Linked DNA regions of Homo sapiens: region 1 is linked to region 2. Evidence: promoter capture Hi-C in 16 types of primary human blood cells and fetal thymus (Javierre and others, 2016). All regions are on one chromosome and are shown on one strand. The core of a region is centred on a gene start or on the middle of the fragment in contact, and the rest is flanking DNA. Distances in the headings are between cores, read along the strand shown. Region 1 holds the start of AGAP2-AS1 (AGAP2 antisense RNA 1). Region 2 overlaps B4GALNT1 (beta-1,4-N-acetyl-galactosaminyltransferase 1).

Region 1 (6,000 bases), core at 2,328-4,827, 98 kb before region 2:
GGAAATCTGTGGAGGGGGCTACTGAGGCAGCTGTGTCTTCCTCCCTAAGACTGTACCCCATCTGGAGACCTGAGCCCCCTGAGTCGGGAACCCCCTCCTTCTCCCATGGTGAAGAAGCAGAGGAGGAAAAAATTGACAACACCATCCAAGACTGAAGGCTCGGCTGGGCAGGCTGAAGGTGAGGCTCTGGCAGGCACTTCCACTCCCACCCAGAACCCTCATCCCCAACATCAGCTCCCTGGCCTAACTCCTGCAGCAGGAGGAAAAGTGCCTGAGCTGAGTGCTTGACTACCATTACCACTGCACACAACTTAGTGAAAGAGTGGATGGACATCCCCCAGCCCCTGTCCTTCTTTCCTTGTTCCCCAGCTAATTCCTTTCCCCAGCCCCTGTTCTCAACGATGTCCATGTCTATAGCTCCTGCTCCCTCTCCTAATGACGTTCTAGTTCCTCTTCCTTCCCTCAACTCCACTTACCACCCCAGCCCCTGCACCCGGCAGCCCCGCTGATCCCCAGTGATTCAGCCCCTTATCTCAGCATCTCCCACTGATTCCCCAGATCCTGGATTCTGTGACCACCCAGCCCCTTCTCCCAATAACTTTCTTTCTTTTTTTTTTCTTTTCTTTTTTTTTTTTTTTTTTGAGATGGAGTCTCACTCTGTCACCCAGGCTGGAGTACAGTGGTGCGATCTCGGCTCACTGCAAGCTCTGCCTCCCGGGTTCACACCATTCTCCTGCCTCAGCCTTCCAAGTAGCTGGGACTACAGGCACTTGCCACCATGCCCGGCTAATTTTTTGTATTTTTTAGTAGAGACTGGGTTTCACTGTGTTAGCCAGGATGGTCTTGATCTCCTGACCTCGTGATCTGCCCGCCTCGGCCTCCCAAAGTGCTGGGATTACAGGCGGTGGGGATTACAGGCATGAGTCACCGTGCCCGGCCTTCTCCCGATAACTTTCTATTGCCAAGTGCTCCCCAACAGCCCTTGACCATAGTGATCCCCATTCTTGTCCCTCAGTGATTCCCCGCACCCCCACCGCCACCAGCCCCAGGGCCCTCTCATCTCAGCCCTGCGCCCCAGCTTCTGTCCCCTTCCCCCGTGTTCACTCAGATCCTGACCCTCCCTTCTTCTCCCAGAGGTCCAGCTCCTCGCTGGTCTTGATAACCCATCCCTGCTGCCCCTGCTCTCTGCCGGGTGCTCAGACCCAGGTTCCAGATCTGCCTACTCTCATGGCTCTTGGCTTCTGTTCCACTCTGCTCCGGGGCCACTGACTTTAGTTCTGCTTTCTCTCCCCATCTGTCTGTCCTGCTTTGTCTCTGGCACTCTGTCACTATCTCTCTCCATCTCTCCATCTACCTGTCTTTTTCTCCTTCTTTCTTGGTCTCTCTTTCTCTGTTCTGCTCTCCATTCTATCTCTATCTCCTTCGCTTCGGGAAACCAGCCAAGCGCAAAATGTGGAAACTAAAATCCTTTGGTAGTTTAAGAAATATTTATAAAGCAGGTAACAAGTGGGGAGCCGGGAGGGGCGCTCAGCTGGGGTGCAGAAGGGTGGGGGTGCCCCCGCCTTCCCCTGCATGTGCTCGGGCTTCCTGCTGCCCCCCACCCTCTGCTTTCCCTACCCCCACTGCCCCACTCCCAGGGGCTCGGGATGGACATCAGGGAGGACGGTCTTGGGAAAGGCAGCCCCTGCTTGAACTCTGTCCCTTAATGACCCCATCCCATCCCCCACTCAGAGGAAAACTTTGAGTTCCTGATCGTGTCCAGCACGGGTCAGACGTGGCACTTTGAGGCAGCCAGTTTTGAGGAGCGGGATGCCTGGGTCCAGGCCATCGAGAGTCAGATCCTAGCCAGTCTGCAATGCTGTGAGAGCAGCAAGGTCAAGGTAAGAGTTTGAGGTGGAGTGGAGGACTGGCCGCAGGAACTGACCCTGGTGCTGACGGCCATTGGCAACGACACGGCCGAAGTCGTGTGAGAGGAGAGCAGAGGTGTCTGAGAAGGAGGTGGGGCTTGGAGGCAGAGTCAGTGCCAACCCAAACCCTCTCTGCAGCTGCGCACAGACAGCCAAAGCGAGGCCGTGGCCATCCAGGCGATCCGGAACGCCAAGGGGAATTCAATCTGCGTGGACTGCGGGGCCCCCAGTGAGTGCCAGGAGGCAGCGGAGGGGCTAGGGAGTGTAGTGAATGCCGGGGTGCCTGTGCTGCCCGGCTGGGAGCCGACCTCTACGCTCCTTCCGCAGACCCCACGTGGGCCAGCTTGAACCTGGGCGCCCTCATCTGCATCGAGTGTTCTGGCATCCACCGCAACCTGGGCACACACCTGTCCCGCGTTCGCTCGCTGGACTTGGACGACTGGCCACGGGAGCTGACCCTGGTGCTGACGGCTATTGGCAACGACACGGCCAACCGCGTGTGGGAAAGCGACACGCGAGGCCGTGCCAAGCCCTCGCGGGACTCTTCGCGGTAAGCGTGAGGGAACAGAGCGGGGGGAGGGTTGCTGAGGGTGTGCGAACCTGAGACGGTCCCGTGGGTAGGGGCAGAAGTCCTGGCTGGGGGTCCCTAGAGCCTTTTCCGTTGATCCCTGGTCTTGCAGGGAGGAGCGCGAGTCGTGGATTCGCGCCAAGTACGAGCAGCTACTGTTCCTGGCGCCGCTGAGCACCTCGGAGGAGCCGCTGGGCCGCCAGCTGTGGGCCGCCGTGCAGGCCCAGGACGTGGCTACCGTTCTCCTGCTTTTGGCCCATGCGCGACACGGGCCGCTCGACACCAGCGTAGAGGACCCACAGCTGCGCTCCCCACTCCACCTGGCGGCCGAGCTCGCCCACGTCGTCATCACGCAACTGCTGCTGTGGGTACGTGAGCTGGGGGGAGGAAAGGGGGTCTTTGAGGCTTCATCTCGGAAAACGCCTGGCGCGGGAAAGCCCGAAATTCCCAGAGGGACCCCGGAAGTAGGCTTGGCCATGTGGGGGAGGCGGCGCCGGGTGTGGGCGCCCTGGGGACGCGCGGTCACGCGGCCGTTTCCGCCCTCTAGTACGGCGCGGACGTGGCGGCCCGTGACGCCCAGGGCCGCACGGCGCTGTTCTACGCCCGCCAGGCTGGAAGCCAGCTGTGCGCCGACATCCTTCTCCAGCACGGCTGCCCGGGTGAGGGCGGCAGCGCGGCCACCACGCCCAGCGCGGCCACCACGCCCAGCATCACCGCCACGCCCAGCCCCCGCCGCCGGAGCAGCGCCGCTAGCGTGGGCCGCGCCGACGCCCCGGTTGCGCTGGTATAGTTGCCCAGCGGGAGAGACACCCCCATCCCCACGCGGGCCGGGCACGACCACACCGGGCGGACCGCTGGACAGACGCACCCACTCACCTCTCCGATCCGCACCCCGCCCCACGGGAGCACTTCCTACCCCCACGAGGGCACAGCCCCCACGCCTTCCAGAAGACACAAACTCACCTCCCTCTCCCCAACGAGGCATGGAGACCCCAGCTCAACACGCCCCCTCTCCATTGTTTCCACACTCGGATTGCTCTGGGTCTACCCGCTCGGGGTTCGCGGAAGGGGAGGTCCCCAGCGGTACGGGCTCCTAGGCGCTTGGACATGCCCGCTTGTGCCCCCTAGGGGCGGAAAGAAGACCCGGTCCTGCCCGAGCTCAACAATCCCAGGGCGGGAGCCCATACCCAGGCTGGCTCCTGGGGCGACGCCACGCCAGAGGGAGGGTTTAGTACATGGGAGGGCTAGCCCCGGGACTTGGGGCCAATACGGAAACCCTACCCCTTCCATGCTCATCTCACTGCCCAGTGAAGGGGGCAAGGGCAGCGAGGGGCAGGACCCCTGCTGCTCATGGGGGTGGGGGTTCCCAACCCTTTCCGTGAAAGGGACCGTGAGTAGTGGAAACCAGGACGTCCCCTACACCTACCCATGGGTGGAAGCTAAAGAGTCCGGGGGGAACCAAGAGCCTGGGTCCCTCCCACTACTATCTTGGGAGGGAGAAGGGATGGAGCAGGAGCGGGCTAAGAGGGCTGCGGGGGCCTTGTAATTTATTGCTTTGTTCCCCAACATGGGGATGGGGGCGGGCAGGGGCGTGGGGAGGGCGTTTTGGGGTAGGGGAAGCCCAGGGTGGGCAGGGGGTGGGTTGGGGTGGGGGTGCTCTCGGGTTGTGTCTGTGACCGTGACTGCGTACCTGTGACTGTGCAGCGCCCGTGGTGATCTGGGGTAGGGGGCACCCCTACAGTGGGACCCCTCCCCCATTATTCTTTCTGTCCAGCCCCTCCCTCCCACTGGAGCAGCTCCAGAGCCATTCCTCACCCCCGTGACCTCTCCCAGCCAGGGCTGAGAGGATTCGAGGTGGCTGGGAGGGTTTCCAGGCCCCCTGCCCCTTCCCCACAAACTGGGTGATAGGGCGGACTTACCTGGCCCAGCCCTGCCTCCCTCAGCCAACCCAGCCCTTGGGCTGTCTGTGTCAGTGGTTTCCGGTCTTTTTTTTTTTTTTTTTTTCTGGCTAAAATAGTTTGCAAAGGACCAGGTAATTGGGGAGGGGAGAGAGGTGGGGGCAAGGGGGAAATGCCCCCCCATCTCCTTGGAGGCAGTGGTGTGAATCTTCTTCAACAGCAATTAAAGAGGAAGTGATTTTGTCTAGGGGGTGAGCTGCTGGTCTGTTCTTGGAGGCAGGTCAGGGCATGGCCTTGGTCAAGATGGGGTACTGGGGTTGGACAGGGACAGGCAGAGGTGCCTCCCACTGGGGCTGGTGGCAGGACAGTACCCATGGGCATGGAGGTGGTTCCATCATGTACAACAGTTCTGGGTTCATGTAGTGGAGGACGTGGGCAGGTTGGAGTCAGTGGGGACCCTGGGAACAGAGAAGGCACTGACTCTTAAGATGATGCCAGTCCTGGGAGAGTTGGGATATGGTACTTAGAGGAGAGGACAGGCCCATGGAGAGGGGTGGGAAGATGGGACAGCTTTGTTTAAGAGCAGGAACTTTGGAGACAGATCTGATTTTGAAACCTGCCCCTCCACTGCACAGCTAGGGGACCTTGGTGGCATCTGTTTATCTGTATTCTGAACAGTATCTGTTCAGAGGGCACCTGAAAGGCGCTCCAGCTCTGAGGAGGGCTGCCCCGAGCCAGCCTGCTCACCGTGAGCACTAGGTACCAGAGTAGAACATAGAGTAGGGGTTCCTCCCCTGGCCTCGTCAGGGGGTGTTCCAGAGGGAAGGGGTGGGAGACCTCCTGGGAAAGATTTCCCAGCTAGCTGCAGAGGTCCCTGGTGTCCACAAACTCAGTGTCAGCTGATGCAGGCATTTATCCACCTCCGTGCCATCAAAGGGACCACCAAGGCCACAGCGGCCTGAAGCCGGTGCTGCCTCCATGAGCTGCAGTGCCACTAGGCTCAGCACATAGCCAATCCTACCATTTCTCGAGGGCAGCTGAAAGTGTTTACTCAGGTAGAGGGGCTGGACAGGGTAGGGTTGGGTCAGCAGCCAGTGCAGGTTGGGCACAGCCATATGTTGTTATCTACCTTGAGGAGTTAGTTGGTAGCACCAGCATCTTTGGGTAGAATTGCTTCTGACCCTTGGTGCCCACCAGCCCCAAGAGGTTCAGCTGCAAGTGTGCCACTGAACTGAGGACACAGCACCAGACCTGAATCCAGTTCACATGGAGGCTGCGGCTCTACAGGGTCCTAGGCTGTGACCACCCAGCACAGCGGCGTGACCCAGGAAAGGTGGATTCAACAGTGCAGGTGCAGTGACAAGTACAGAGGCAGGTGTGTGGTCTGGGCAAAGCGACAAGAGGGGGGAGGTAGCAAAGAAGATTGGACTAGAGGACCTGGCCGTTCCCCCTTCACCTCCAAGACCCTGGACTCTCTTATTTCAGCTCCACTCCTTCCTCGTGGCCAAAGTTTGCTCCCTTCTTCAGAAGTTTGGGAGTGTGAGAGAATATGGGAAGGAAATAAGGACCCTGGAGAGAATGAAATTGCCTTCAAAGAGCAAGTGGGAAGTTCCTTTCATTTCCAGCC
Region 2 (6,302 bases), core at 1,932-4,431:
CTTCCTCCACTGCCAGGAGCCAGTCCCCAGCTGACCAGCTGCTCATAGCCCCTGCCAACTCCCCGCTCCAGTACCCCCTACAGGGTGTGGAAGTTCAGCCCCTCAGGAGCATCTTGGTGCCAGGTAGGGAGGAGGGTCCCAGAGGATGACCTCAGCCACAGTGGGGGTGGCAGAGCCCAAGGTTGGGTGGGGAAGAATGGGAGATGATTGGAATGGGAGGTGGGAACCTCTGATGAATGGGGGACTTAAGCTCAAACGGCGGCTTAGGAGGTGGGAAGTGAGGACAGAAGGGACTCTAGGAATTTCAGAAGACTGTAACTGGGGAGTTTTGGGGGAAATAATCTATTCTTTGCTGACTAACCATTGGTTAGGTGGTGGTCAGGGCAGGCCATAGGGCAAGCTTTGACGGGACGGGCTCAAAAATCAGTCACTGTAGGCTATGTTATACAGTGTGCCCTGCTGAGGCCTCAATAAGAAGAATAGGTGGAAAGTTCTCTATTGTGTGTGGTGACAGCAGGGAGAGAAAATGAGAAAGAATTCAGGGCTGCCTATGTGATTCTGATCCCCCCACTCCTTTCTCCTAGGGCTGAGCCTTCAGGCAGCTTCTGGTCAGGAGGTATACCAGGTGAGAGAAAACAAGAAGGCAAGGAGGCCAAGTAGGCATCAAGAATGCTGGGAGGGAGGCAGGGCTACTAAGGGAAGGATGGGCGAATCAGGGAGGCAAGAAGTGGGTCTGGGGCCTAACCCTGCACTCTCCAATCCCCTCCTAGGTGAACCTGACTGCCTCCCTAGGCACCTGGGACGTGGCAGGGGAAGTGACTGGAGTTACTCTCACTGGAGAGGGTCAGGCAGATCTCACCCTTGTCAGCCCAGGGCTGGACCAACTCAACAGGCAACTACAACTGGTCACTTACAGCAGCCGAAGCTACCAGACCAACACAGCAGACACAGGTGCAAGGCCTGGGTGGAGAGACGGGCAGGCTGGGCAAACAGAGAAGAACCAGAAAGGCTGGAGTGGGCAAATGGCAGAGGGCATGGGAGGCATCTGGGCTATGGCCAGAGCTGTCCAGCCACACAATGGGTGCTTCAACTGGACCAGCAGGGCCAGAGGGAGAAAGGGGGCCTTTGTTCATCTGGGGCTGGAGCAGGCCAGAGGGAAACCCGAGCCTTGGGTGTGTCTCCCCTTTAGGCCAACTGTGGGGGGCCCCAGGAAGAGACTTGTCTAAGGAGTTAGAAGACTATATTCCCAACCCACCCCTTACTAGAGGGCAAAGGTCTTTACTTTCCTGAGATCCCATTTCTCTTCCAGCAAAAGAGGCCTAAAAGCCCTCTTTGCTTCTCCCCAAAGCTGGTTTGTTGCACTAAGTTTGCTTCCACCTTAGGGCCTTTGCACTTTCTATTTTCTCAGCCTGGAATGCTCTTCCCCAGATTTTTGCAGACTGGCTTCTTCTTGTCATTTAGATCTCAGTTCAAATGCCTCCTCTTCACTATCACATTACTTGTTTGTCTTATTTTCCACTCAATACTTACCAGTATCTGAATTTTTTAATTTACTTAGCCTGGCACCAGACTGACTAGGTTGCTATCAGTTTTGTTGCTTAATAGTTGTGTAAATGTGGCAAGTTACTTTTCTGTGTCTCAGCTTTTTTTTCTGTTGTAGGAATCTACTTAATAGGGCTATCATGGGGATAAAATGAGTGCATATATTTAAGGTAATTTTTTAACGGGTCTGGCACATAGTAAGTGCTCAATAAAGATTAGCTTTTACTTAAAATTTTCTTTGTTGTTTTTTCTCCTACCCATTAGAATGTAAGTTCCATAAAGGTAAGAACCTTCTGTTCTTGTCCACCAAGGCCTAGAAAGGTGGGACACAGAGTAGGCACTTAAATATTGATTGGCTGAAAACAGAATGTTATCCCACCCTTCAGGGTCAAATGCCATGTCCTTTCTTCCCAGTCCGGTTCTCCACCGAGGGACATGAGGCTGCTTTCACTATCCGCATAAGACACCCGCCCAACCCTCGGCTGTACCCACCTGGGTCTCTACCCCAGGGAGGTGAGGCTGGTAGGGGCAGGGACATATTAGAACCAGCCTTGGTGGGGAGCAAGTTGGGAGAGGGCAGTCCTGGGAGGGGATATCTACCTGTTCCCCTCTCCCAACCCTCCTTGTCTGCACCCAACCCTGTGCCCCCAATCTCAGCCCAGTACAACATCAGCGCTCTAGTCACGATTGCCACCAAGACCTTCCTCCGTTATGATCGGCTACGGGCTCTCATCACCAGTATCCGCCGCTTCTACCCAACGGTTACCGTGGTCATCGCTGACGACAGCGACAAGCCAGAGCGCGTTAGTGGCCCCTACGTGGAACACTATCTCATGCCCTTCGGCAAGGTGTGCAGCTAGCAGGCTGAACGGCAGGCCAGAGGACTCCCGCAGGGGGTGTGCCCTCAATCTGCAGCCTCCAGGGTAGTGATTCGAGGACCACCTGCCTCAGAATCATGGGGTGCCTGTTAAGCATGAGGATTCCTGGAATGTAAGCTTCGTGGGAGCAGGAAATTCTCTCTGAATTCTTAGAATGGTGCTTAGTGCCTAATGGCATTCAATAAAATAGCTGATGAATGAATAAATAAATGCACACGGAAATTAAACGCATTCTAAGACCACTGACTTGGAACCTCTGTGGGGATCTGCATTTCTTTTACCTAGCTCCTGGCCTTTCGAAAGCACTCAAAAGTCTGGAGAAGAATACAAGCTGAGAAGGGTCGGGGGAGAGAAAGAAAGGTGGCAGAGGGCCATGTCCTATTTCTGCAGCCTCCCCAACCACACACACCTTTCTGCCAGGGCTGGTTCGCAGGCCGGAACCTGGCCGTGTCTCAAGTAACCACCAAGTACGTGCTGTGGGTGGACGACGACTTCGTCTTCACGGCGCGGACGCGGCTGGAGAGGCTTGTGGACGTGCTGGAGCGGACGCCGCTGGACCTGGTAGGGCAGGGGCTGCAGGATGTGGGGGTGGAGAAGGGCCTTGAACAGGCTAAGGCCACAGCGGGGGCGCTGCGGCCAGGAACGGCCAGCCCTAGGACAAAGAGAGAACCACGAAGTGGGGCCTGGGAACTGTCTGGGTCCTGCAGGGGTGAAGCGGAAGAGGATGGGGCAGGGGTACCCCCGAAGGCACCGGAGCGCAGACCTTGACCCCTTCGGGTCCCCTATCCCAGGCCCGCCTGGAGGCAACCTCCCTCTCCCTGCAGGTGGGGGGCGCGGTGCGCGAGATCTCCGGCTTTGCCACCACTTATCGGCAGCTGCTGAGCGTGGAGCCCGGCGCCCCAGGCCTCGGGAACTGCCTCCGGCAAAGGCGCGGCTTCCACCACGAGCTCGTCGGCTTCCCAGGCTGCGTGGTCACCGACGGCGTGGTTAACTTCTTCCTGGCGCGGACTGACAAGGTGCGCGAGGTCGGTTTCGACCCCCGCCTCAGCCGCGTGGCTCATCTGGGTGAGTGGCACCCCCTCCCGGTCGACCCTGGCAGGAGCCCCACGGGGAGCTGGCGCACGGTCACGCGCCTCTCCTCCTAGGCTGCACCCGCGCCCAGCCGCCAGCGGGAACCCCAGAACAGTTCTGCAGTGATTTACCAAGACCTGCACCTGGGCGAGAGACAGCTCCCACCCTCTCCCAGCCCCGCATACTCTTTTTTTTTTTTTATAAATATATATATTTTTTGTTATACTTTAAGTTCTAGGGTACATGTGCACAACGTGCAGGTTTGTTACATGTGTATACATGTGCCATGTTGAATCTCCATTCCCAGCACAGCCGCTGGGCCCCCATAAGCTTCCCCATCACTGTTCCCGCCACCCCTGCTCTACTCCCAGGGCTTCCCCTAGTTCAGACCACAGTCGGTGCAACCCATCTGGCGTTTATTTAACCTCTGGGAGTAGGGGTAGGTTTTTCGATTTTCAAAGCACAAGTATATTGACTCCATTTACACAAGAGTAAGACTGAGACCCAGGGAGTTGATTTACATGCTCAGGGTCCTTAGAAACAAGCCTTTGCACACACACTTTCCACACCCTAAATTTGAGAGTTCTCCCTTACCAGTCGGCCTTCTGCACCCTCAGGATCCCTCACTGTGTACTCCCCTCCACCCCCAGAATTCTTCTTGGATGGGCTTGGTTCCCTTCGGGTTGGCTCCTGCTCCGACGTCGTGGTGGATCATGCATCCAAACTGAAGCTGCCTTGGACATCAAGGGATGCCGGAGCAGAGACTTACGCCCGGTACCGTTACCCAGGATCACTGGACGAGAGCCAGATGGCCAAACACCGGCTGCTCTTCTTCAAACACCGGCTGCAGTGCATGACCTCCCAGTGATGGCCCGCTGGGGATTTCTGACTGTCAGGCTGGGCCTGCCTCCTTGTCCCTGCCAGGAATTTCCAACAAACCCCACCACCCTGTGAGCACTCTACTGGCTGTCCCTGAGCCTCTAGTTCCTCACTCTTCCTTTTCAGAACCTGATGCCCAGTAGGGGTTGTCCTGGTGACACCCCTCCTTTTTCCAGTGCCCAGAGGCCTGGTGGAGCCATAACCTCTCCCACAGCCAGTGCCAAGTCCTCCCCCTGCCCATTCTCATGGGGCAGGAAATGGGGGGATCACTTTCCAAGTGCCAAAGAGCCCAGAGGGACTCTAAGAACCTAAGGTGGAAACACTGTCCTCTCATCTTGGGACCGAGGGGGTGGGGAAGTTCCCCAACACATAATCCCAAGACTGTGCCCCTCATCTGCATCTTCAGATCCAGTACTCTGTGTACCTGCTCCAGCCCCACCCCCACAGAGAGAACTTGTGGCTCTGGGGCTGGGGTGAGGGCTGGTGGTTGGTGAAAGCCATTCTTAGTTGTGTCTCTGCAATGCTGTGGGCACAAAAGAAGGGGCACCAGAGTCCCTGTGCAAACACCTAGACTCACTTCATGGATTCCAAAGCTCTCAGCTTCATTTTATTAGTTACGTTAGGTAAGGGGGTTCAAGGGTCATGGTCCTCATCACACACATGTCATCAGGGCCCTCTGCACTCCACATGATGAGGTCAGACCCACACGGTGCAAATCTTTGGGTCAGTGAGCTCCTGGAGAAGAGAGGAGACATGTCAGGAATAGATTAGGCACCCCTCTTCCTTAATGAAATGTGGCAGTCCTCTCAGGGGTACCCCACCTACTTAGGGATCTGAGTTCTTCAGTTCCTCACCCATAGCTCAGCCCGGGCTCCCTGATTTGGTCTTCAATCTACTATTCATTCCGTCCCCACCCTTTTCTTCTTGATCTTCCTCAGACCCTTTCCCAAACCCCTCTCCCTGGGTCTCCAGCCACTTACCCCTGCCTCACTTGCCGCAGCCCAGTGCCTCCTGGCTCCCGCTCCTGGTGCTACTGCCCCTTAACAGGCTCCCCAGGGCATAAGCAGCTGCATCCTGCACACTCACAAACAGCTGATCTGGAGTCACCCTGTCCAGGAGTCCTACCCGGGTCAGTGTCCCCTGCACCAAGGCTATGTGGGGAGGGTGTCAGACTCTGAGACCCTAAGTCCACACCGGGTCCTTTTCCCTACCGCAGGTGTCCAGTCATTGCCCAGGCACTGGGCCCCGCTCTTCTCCACACATCTCACCATTACACTGAGCCAGGAGGAGGCGGATCCTAGCATCTCGACATCGGCTGGCCAGCTGCAGGGATGGGGCAAAGGGGTTAAGTCCCAGATCAGAGGGTATGAGTGAGATGCTAAGGGGTTTCTCCTCAACCTACCCTCTCCCTCACCTGCACCACTTCTCTGGCCCCAGCAGCATCTGCAAAGGTGACACCACTGAAGTCTAGGACCACCACCCTGACAGGCTCAGCAACTAGAATGGGAGAAGACAGGAGTACCCAGGTGTCACCATGCAACATGCCCAAATCTTCCTTCTTGTCACCCCATCTCACCTGCAACCATTGGGCCATCTGGCTTTGAAGTCTCCTATAAGTAAAGAAGGGCAGTCACCACTCCCGAAACACAGCATGAACATGCACCCCTTGAGCACAAGGATCCCCCTCAGAACACCCACCTGCCTCCCACTCCCTGAGGATCCACATCCCTCCTAAACCAAGCTCCTTCACCTTTTCTCCTTCTCCGAGCCCCAGGTGCCACTCCAGGTTGCAGCGAAACTGCCCACGGGTCCCAAAGTACAGTGGTGTTGGATAGCTCAGGATGCAGAGCCCCGGGACCTGGAGGAGCTAAGAGGTCAAAGGATCAGAGAAATGTCTGGGGCTAATCTTCCCTTCCTTCTTTGGCTGCAGCC

The links. The method cuts DNA at HindIII sites, captures the fragments that hold promoters and counts their contacts. A CHiCAGO score of 5 or more calls a contact.
Region 1: the fragment with the promoter of AGAP2-AS1 here is called in contact with a fragment that was not itself captured in region 2 in 3 of 17 cell types (M1 macrophages, naive B cells and M2 macrophages); the score reaches 5.4 in M1 macrophages.

Annotation. Positions count from the first base shown.
Region 1 is chr12:57,723,817-57,729,816 of GRCh38, reverse strand. It overlaps AGAP2-AS1 (AGAP2 antisense RNA 1), which reads right to left and starts at 3,577. Exons shown (of 2, transcript NR_027032.1): 1 at 3,439-3,577; 2 at 1,461-2,852. AGAP2 (ArfGAP with GTPase domain, ankyrin repeat and PH domain 2) reads left to right here. Exons shown (of 19, transcript NM_001122772.3): 13 at 50-178; 14 at 1,440-1,499; 15 at 1,732-1,880; 16 at 2,046-2,136; 17 at 2,235-2,457; 18 at 2,588-2,843; 19 at 3,023-4,620. The coding sequence ends at 3,265. RefSeq lists enhancers at 1,726-2,359, 2,360-2,995. The HindIII fragment of the contact is 18,142 bases long and covers 1-6,000 here.
Region 2 is chr12:57,624,801-57,631,102 of GRCh38, reverse strand. B4GALNT1 (beta-1,4-N-acetyl-galactosaminyltransferase 1) reads left to right here. Exons shown (of 11, transcript NM_001478.5): 4 at 17-123; 5 at 585-625; 6 at 771-951; 7 at 1,957-2,055; 8 at 2,200-2,390; 9 at 2,841-2,981; 10 at 3,245-3,485; 11 at 4,142-6,302. The coding sequence ends at 4,359. It also overlaps the pseudogene SLC26A10P. Among named protein-coding and RNA genes, the nearest start is that of B4GALNT1, 5.2 kb to the left of the region's middle. The HindIII fragment of the contact is 1,284 bases long and covers 2,540-3,823 here.